3 separate regions of the Homo sapiens genome follow, and regions 1 and 2 are each linked to region 3. The links are contacts of gene promoters, found by promoter capture Hi-C in human tissues and cell types (Jung and others, 2019). All regions are on one chromosome and are shown on one strand. The core of a region is centred on a gene start or on the middle of the fragment in contact, and the rest is flanking DNA. Distances in the headings are between cores, read along the strand shown.

Region 1 (2,700 bases), core at 46-2,545, 140 kb before region 3:
TTCATAAAGCTGCCATGTAAAAACAGAAAACAACAGTAAGTTGTCAGACAGTATGTACAATACAAACCTAAATTTTAAAAACTGATTTGTGTTTACACACAGACAGAAATTCCTGGAACAACAGGAAAATTTGGTCCTGGTGTAGGATGTAAAAATAGGCAGACAAAATATAGTCACTGAAATAATGTGATACAATTGGTGAAATAATGAATTTTAATAGATGGACTGAAGAACAGAAAGGATACAGTTGAACAAATAAATAAGCTAAAATATCAGATTTGGGGTACTCTGCCAAAAGACAGTAGAAAGAGATTAAATATATAAAAGAAAAAGCAAGAGATAAGATAGAGAAATGAGGGAAATCAACTGCCACACAATAGCTTACACAGGAGGAGAGAAAAACACAAATGAGAGTGAAGAAATATTTGCAGAAATAATGACTAAATTTCCCAGAATTAGAGAAAATGTAACACCTAAAATTGAAAGGACTCAAAGAATGTCAAAATAATCCCACAGCTAGAACCATTAAAGTAAAACTTAGGAAATCAGAATTCTCTTCCCTTCCTGAAAAATTCACTCTTATAGCCACCAAGTGGGTATCCACATCACAGGGTACCTGCATGGTTGTCGGAATATAAGCTACGTGAGGAGGCCATTCGCAGGCAGAGCCAGCTTGCACAGGATGTTGAAGGCCGAGTGTGGAGGAGGAGGAGGGCACCCATGAGGGTGGAGGACTGGCAGGGAAAGTAGGAGCCTGAGCACCTCCACATAGAAGGGTTCAAAGCAGCAATGGGAGATTTGCTATATAAAGAGGGAAGGATCAAATAAGATCTATTAAGGGCAGATGCAGTGGCTCACGCCTGTAATCCCAGCACTTTGGGAGGCAGAAGCAGGAGGATCACTTGAGGCTAGGAGTTTGAGACCTGCCTGGGCAATACAGTGAGATCTTGTCTCTACAAAAAATGTAAAAATTAGCCAGATGTGGTGGCAGGTGCCTACTCAGCTACCTCAGATACTCAGGAGGCTGAGGCAGGAGAGTCGACTGAGGCCAGCAGTTCAAGGGTGCAGAGAGCTATGATCCCTCCACTGCACTTCAGCCTGAGTGACAGAATGAGACCCCATTTCTTTAAAAAAAAAAAATTCTTTTTTAAAAAAGATTTATTAAAGGCAATGGGACCCAGAGTTCTCACTTGGCAGAGAAGGGAGATGCAAATATGGAAATGGAAGAAGTTAGAATGAACTCTGTGGATTGAAACTGGGCCAGGTACAGTGGCTCATGCCTGTAATCCCAGCACTCTGGGAGGCCAAGGTGGGTGGATCATTTGAGGTCAGGAGTTTGAGACCAGCCTGGGCAACATGGTGAAACCCATCTCCACCAAAAAATACAAAAATTAGCCCAGCATGGTGGGGTGTGCCTGCAGTCCCCAGCTACTAGGAAGGCTGAGGCAGGAGAATCACGTGAACCCGGGAGGCGGAGGTTGAGGTGAGCTGAGATCATGCCACTGTACTTCAGCCTGGGCGACAGAACGAGACTGCGTTTCAAAAAAAATAAACTGTAAGTATGAGTGAACTCATGGATTTCTGAAGACATGGACATACATGCATGGTGTGTGTGTCTACATAAGCACACACAGATGCATACTCCCTAGCTCTGTAATTCTATCTACTGAGAGCGCCTTGGAGCAGTGATCATCTTCCCTCCCCAGTGGTATGAACGTTTCTAGCACCTAACACTTGGCCCCTAATACCATTCTCCAATAAAAGGAACCAGACATCTCTGGAGAATTGTAATTCACTAATTACAGCACAGGGGTAGAAAAAGTACAGGATCAATCTGGAATATCTTGTGGTAGTAAGCAAGAAAGTGCTCAAGGAATGCTAAAGAATGTCAAAAAGACATAGGATCAAGCTTGAAGGAGATCCCACTGGCCAAACAGGGTAATTTCAGCATCAATACCAATAGTAATAGCAATGGATTATAACCTACTGAACAAAATAAGAAATCATGAATCAATATAGATATAAATAAATGAGTGAATAAATGGAAAGTGTGGTAGTGAATGGGATAGTTTCAGAATACTTCCCCCATAAACTACACATTACTTCCAAGGGAAAAAGTAATTTCACAGCAGTAAAATCCAGCAGACACTGCCTTGATCAAATGATCAAAGTGAACATCATTAGTAATCAGACAAATCAAAGTCCCATGCGATGAGAAGTACTGTTCCTGTCAAAGTTCTGTAGCCTGAGTCTAATCATGAGGAAACAGACAAAACCAAGTTGGGGGACATTCTACAAAATAACCAACCTGTAATCTTCAAAAATGTCAAGTACTTTCCTTCAAAGACAAGGGAAAACTGAGGTATAATGCCTGATTCTCCCCTGGATCCTTCTGCTGTAAAGGATGTTATTGAGACAACTGGTAAGGCCTGAATGGGGTCTAAGGACTAGACAGGAGTAAATTTCAATGTTAATAAGAAAAATGTTCAACCACCAATGATGAATTGGTGAACAAAATACAAACACAGTAAAATACAGTAACAAAATACAAACCTAATGCAGCAAAATGAGCACATTAAAACTACACTAATTATAGCAGTTGAACATGCACTGAAACCAGCATAGTTGCTAGAGGCAGTGTAAATTAGTTCAAACCCATAAGTTTCCCTGAATGTATGAGGGGACATTAAATGGTCATTC
Region 2 (2,700 bases), core at 5-2,504, 130 kb after region 3:
GGGTCTCACTCACATTGACCAGGTTGGAGGGCAATGGCATGACCTCGGCTCACTGCAGTCTCTGCACCCCCTGCAACCTCTGCCTCCCGGGTTCTTGTGCCTCAGCTTCCCAAGTAGCTGAGACTACCGGTGCACGCCACCATACCTGGCTAATTTTTGTATTTTCAGTAGAGACGGGGTTTCGCCATGTTGGCCAGGCTGGTGTTGAACTCCTGGCCTCAAGTGATCTGCCTGCCTCAGCCTCCCAAAGTGCTGGGATTACAGGTGTGAGCCACCGCGCCCAGCCAGGAGATTTTGTTAGCTAGTGTTTGGCTTTTCTCCACTATCACTGCACTTTCCTCCAGGATCTTTGTTAACCCTTTGCTTCCCACTGGTTATACAGGTGCTGCAGCAGAGAACATGTTAGGCAGTTTGCTGTGCCTCCCAGGTTCAGGGTCAGTGCTTCTTGACCCCTGCACTGGTTCTACCATATCAGAGACAACAAGTGAAGCTTGGAGTGTAGAGGTATTGCCAAGTGACTCAGGTTAGTATGCTGTCATTGTTTGCTTTTTCATTTATACAGAAGTTTTAATTAAATGCAAGGTATCCCAACTCTGTATTATGTATATTTTGTCAAATACACTTTTTTTTTTTTTTTAATGGAGATGGAGTCTTGCTCTTTTACCCAGGCTGGAGTGCTGTGGCGCGATCCCAACTTACTGCAACCTCTGCCTCCTGGGTTCAAGCAGTCTTCTCGCCTCAGCCTCCTGAGTAGCTGGGATTACAGACATGCCCCACCATGCCGGGTAATTTTTGTATTTTTAGAGAAACAGGGTTTCACCATGTTGGCCAGGCTGGTCTTGAACTACTGACCTCAGGTGATCTGCCCACCTTGGCCTCCCGAAGTGCTGGAATTACAGGCATGAGCCATCATGCCCAGCCAGTTATACATTTGACAAAGATGAGGTGATCACATTGCTAAGAATGTCAAATGGAAAATTAGTTTAGGGCATTTTCTGTCCATTAAGGGAAAATGCTCTGTTAGATAGCATAGACTGTGATGGCAGGTGCTTTCAGACTCTGTGTTGAGTTATTTTGAAAGCAATTTTCTGTGATTATCAGAGTCCGTGTGAATCATTGAATTTAGTATCTTCCACAAACTCATGACAGGATAAGAGTAGCAACACAGTTCAAACTGAGTGCTTGCTTGGTAAACACATTTAGATTTATCACAGGGGAGAACTTGACTCTCTAAAACATGCTTAATGTGTTTTTGAAATACGTTGAAATTGAGATTCTGTAATCCTGAGGATTTTTTTTTTGTGCAGGTTATTATAAATGTATATAAAGTGTTTTGTACTTTGTCTTTTCATATGCATTGCATTTTTTTCTGATTATGAAGACGCATCTTTGCTTTCAACTAAATGTCAACTACCAGAATGTAAATATAAGTAACTGTGTATCTGCATTACATTCTGTTGATTTACTTGGTTCAAGAATTATTAAGTGATCCTGATATGTGTTTTATAATTTTTTTTTTTTTTGAGATGGAGTCTCACTCTGTCACCCAGGCTGGAGTGCAGTGGTGCAATCACGGCTCAGTGCAATCTCTGCCTCCTGGGTTCAAGTGATTCTTTTGCCTCAGCCTCCCAAGTAGCTGGGATTACAGGCACCTGCCACCACGCCTAGCTAGTTTTTGTATTTTTAGTAGAGATGGGATTTCACCGTGTTGGGCATGCTGGTCTCGAACTCCTGACCTCAGGTGATCTGCCGGCCTCGACCTCCCAAAGTGCTGGGATTACAGGTGTGAGCTACCACGGCTGGCCTGTTTTATAATGTTAAAGCATTCAGATATGCTAGCCTTGTTTGAAGACCAGTTGGGGACAATAGGATTAGCTTACCAGCTGTTGAGTATTCATAGGAGTTACTTTTTAGGAAGTGGTTGATTTAATACCAGGCTATTCCATACTCTCTTGTCCAGTTCACATGTTAATCAATAGCATACTCTGTGACATTAGTGATCTAGAACCACGTTTTCATCTGTGCACAGTGAACTGGCTTATATTGGGATGAAAATCACAACTTTGACTTAACACTTAATCTAACTAGCATTAACTAGTCCAGACTTACACATGTATTTGCACTGATTTTATTCATGCCCTGGTAGCTTTGTTTATCTGGGTCACAAAAGCTGAAATTGTGGTGTGCTAAGAGAATCACAAATGTAACATACCTCTTATCTTCTATTTAGAGGCCCCAGACCTAAAGCAGGAGGAGCGTCTGCAAGAACTGGAGAGCTGTTCTGGACTGGGTAGCACATCTGATGATACGGATGTCAGGGAGGTCAGTTCCCGCCCCAGCACACCAGGCCTCAGTGTTGTGTCCGGTATGTCTGTCTTGTTTTAAGGAGTAGGGATTTGAAGGTGTTCACCCCCTACCCCCTCCTATTTATAAAGTTGATACAAAAAGATATGTTATATTTAAGAGCTGAGTAATTTCCAGAAAACAAACTTATTTCCATTGCACCTGAAATCTTTGAGAACTTAATGTGTGGCCTTATGGAGCCTGTTGAAGTAATTGGCAAACAGTCTCTCTACAACTGTTTCTGTTCTTAGTAGCCTGTCCTACTTTAGAATTGTACGATTCTGATTATGTTGTGTAAAGCAAGGTAAGTATATTTAAGCAGTAGTACCATAAAGGATATAATACTAAACTCACATG
Region 3 (2,700 bases), core at 72-2,571:
CCTCCGCCTCCCAGATTCAAGCAATTTTCCTGCCTCAGCCTCCTGAGTAGCAGGGATTACAGGCGCCCACCACCACGCCTAGCTAATTTTTGTGTTTTTAGTTGGGGGGGGGGGCGGGGGCGTTCACCATGTAGGCCAGGCTGGTCTCGAACTCCTGACCTCGTGATCCGCCCGCCTCGGCCTCCCAAAGTGCTGGACTTATAGGCGTGAGCCACCGCGCCCAGCCTATGATAGAAATCTTATTAGCTCCATGGTTACAAACAGACAACCCTGAGGCCTGGAGGAAAGTAACTTCAGAACAGATACTCTCCTGGCTGAACTTTATATTTATTGCACTCTTGGCAGTCGTCCCTAGTTGTCTTTTTCTTTGATCTCTCTCTAGTTAAGACTTGCTCCTGGAGGCAAAGCGTGGTGGTGTCTGGCTCAGCATAGCACCTGCCATAATTACAAATGGCAATTATGGAATGAATCAGCTGTTTAAAGCACCAAATCTTGAGCTGGCCCGAAGACTGCGCAGGAGGATTGCATGCTCAACTCTCCCCTTTAGAAACTGTTAACAATCGTTGTGGCCGGGCGCGGTGGCTCACGCCTGTAATCCCAGCACTTTGGGAGGCCGAGGCGGGTGGATCATGAGGTCAGGAGATCGAGACCATCCTGGCTAACAAGGTGAAACCCCGTCTCTACTAAAAATACAAAAAAAATTAGCCGGGCGCGGTGGCGGGCGCCTGTAGTCCCAGCTACTCGGGAGGCTGAGGCAGGAGAATGGCGTGAACCCGGGAAGCGGAGCTTGCAGTGAGCCGAGATTGCGCCACTGCAGTCCGCAGTCCCGCCTGGGCGACAGAGCGAGACTCCGTCTCAAAAAAAAAAAAAAAAAACAATCGTTGTAACTGGAAATGTAACTGTTATACCCTCCCCCCCTTTTATTTATTTATTTTTTTGAGAGGGAGTTTTTGCGCTGTTGCCCAAGCTGGAGTGTGGTGGCGCCCAGCCCTGTTAGCCCCTTACAGAGTAGATCAGCTGCCGCAGGCATCTGAGTTCCCCAAACGGACGCCCGAACCCGGCATTGCGCAAATCGTTTCCAAGTAGCCCCGGCTTATTTATCCCGTCCGGGAGGGAGGGACCCAGGGAAGGCCCACCCCACTTGGTTCCCGAGAAATGCAGAGCCTGGCGTCCACTCCCGGTCTGGGGGACCCCTCCACCGCCAGCCCAGGAAGTCAGCGCCGGGCCCTCGGGGCGGAGCAGGGAAGAGGGAGCGGTTGGCCCGGACGCTCTTCCGGGTCCTGGGAGGAGGGCCCGGACCTAAGCCCCGCCCCTCCGGGGTGGAGTCACGGCTCGCGACTGGCCTAAGTCGCCGCAGGTATTGCAGTCCGGGGCTGGAGGGTAGGGGCGAGGGTCCCCGGATACCGGGTCTATCACGGTCTCGGGCAGGGAGTCTGAATCTTTTAGGGGAGTGGGCCCAAGCCGGGTGCAAAGAACGGGGAAGGGCCTTCCCTGGCTCCGTCCCGGCCACTTTGACCGAATCAGCCTGTTCTTTCCCGACCCCGTCTCCTATCCCCTAGAACTGCCACGTGGGGATGAGATTTGCTGGGCTGGTAGCGGCGGCTGCTGCGGGAGGTCCCGCCCACGTGAAGCCAGCCTAACTGAGCTCTGGACTTTGGGGACAGCTGTCAGTGGCCTAGGCCGCAGGTGAGATTTATCCATTCATCTCTCAATCTATTTTCTTTCTTCATTCACTAGCCACTCCCCCACTTCTACTCCATGCCAGGTCCATTGGTAGGTTCTCGGAATGGATCTGACAGGCCCAGCCCTCTAGGAACTTAGTCTAGTGGAATTTAATCTAGAATCTAGTCTAGAAGCCTTAAATAGATAAACATTCCAAATGATTCCTGCAATGGTGATGGCTAATACCTTCAGAGCCCAGTGGGTGGAAGAAGGAAGTAACTTGGATGTGGGTGGAAGAGAAAAGGGCAAATCAGGGAAGGTTTCACCAGGGAAGGGACTTTTGAACTGGGCTTTGAAGGTTAACTAGGAGTTTGCAAATTTCCCAGAAGGGAAGCGACATTCCAAATAGGGGAAGCAGAACAGGCTGCAAAATTATGAAAAGGCCTGCCATATTACAAGAACAGCAAAAAAACCAATAATGCAAGAGATTGTGGAGGTGAGTTCACGGGAAAAAAGCTCAACAGCAGAAGGCCTTACTTTCTATGCTATGTTGAGGCCAAGATTTATCCCAGAGCTCAGTATTTCTCAGCTTCTTTAAATATTTTGTCCTTTGAGCGGAGAGCAGTGGCTCACACCTGTAATCCCAGCTTTTTAGGAGGCTGAGGTGGAAGAATTGCCTGAGGCTAGGAGTTCGAGACCAGCCTGGACAACAAAGCGAAACCTCCATTTCTATTTTTTTTTCTTTTTTTGAGGAGGAGTCTTGCTCTGTCGCCAGGCTGGAGTGCAAGTGGCGCAATTTCGGCTCACTGCAACCTCCGCCTCTTGGGTTCAAGCAATTCTCACGCCTCAGCCTCCTGAGTAGCTGGGACTACAGGCGTGGGCCACAACGCCCAGCTAATTTTTTTTGTATTTTTAGTAAAGACAGGGTTTCACCATGTTGGCCAGGATGGTATCGATCTGACCTCATGATCCGCCTGCCTCGGCCTCCCAAAGTGCTGGGATTACAGGCGTGAGCCACTGCTCCCAGCCCCGTTTCTA

What was found. The method cuts DNA at HindIII sites, captures the fragments that hold promoters and counts their contacts. A contact is called where the count stands out against the background at its distance.
Region 1: a fragment that was not itself captured here is called in contact with the fragment with the promoter of RABEPK in region 3 in 2 of the 25 tissues and cell types used here (adrenal gland and dorsolateral prefrontal cortex).
Region 2: a fragment that was not itself captured here is called in contact with the fragment with the promoter of RABEPK in region 3 in 1 of the 25 tissues and cell types used here (IMR-90 fibroblasts).

What each region holds. Positions count from the first base shown.
Region 1 is chr9:125,056,974-125,059,673 of GRCh38, forward strand. All of the region lies in intron 2 of SCAI (suppressor of cancer cell invasion), which reads right to left. Among named protein-coding and RNA genes, the nearest start is that of SCAI, 85 kb to the right of the region's middle. The HindIII fragment of the contact is 7,319 bases long and covers 1-2,700 here.
Region 2 is chr9:125,329,696-125,332,395 of GRCh38, forward strand. It overlaps GAPVD1 (GTPase activating protein and VPS9 domains 1), which reads left to right. Exons shown (of 28, transcript NM_001282680.3): 13 at 383-523; 14 at 2,231-2,365. Among named protein-coding and RNA genes, the nearest start is that of GAPVD1, 69 kb to the left of the region's middle. The HindIII fragment of the contact is 9,933 bases long and covers 1-2,700 here.
Region 3 is chr9:125,199,221-125,201,920 of GRCh38, forward strand. It overlaps RABEPK (Rab9 effector protein with kelch motifs), which reads left to right and starts at 1,322. Exons shown (of 8, transcript NM_005833.4): 1 at 1,322-1,686. It overlaps LOC105376271 (a long non-coding RNA gene), which reads right to left and starts at 1,176. Exons shown (of 2, transcript NR_135145.1): 1 at 1,006-1,176; 2 at 313-435. RefSeq lists a silencer at 1,200-1,249. The HindIII fragment of the contact is 10,811 bases long and covers 1-2,700 here.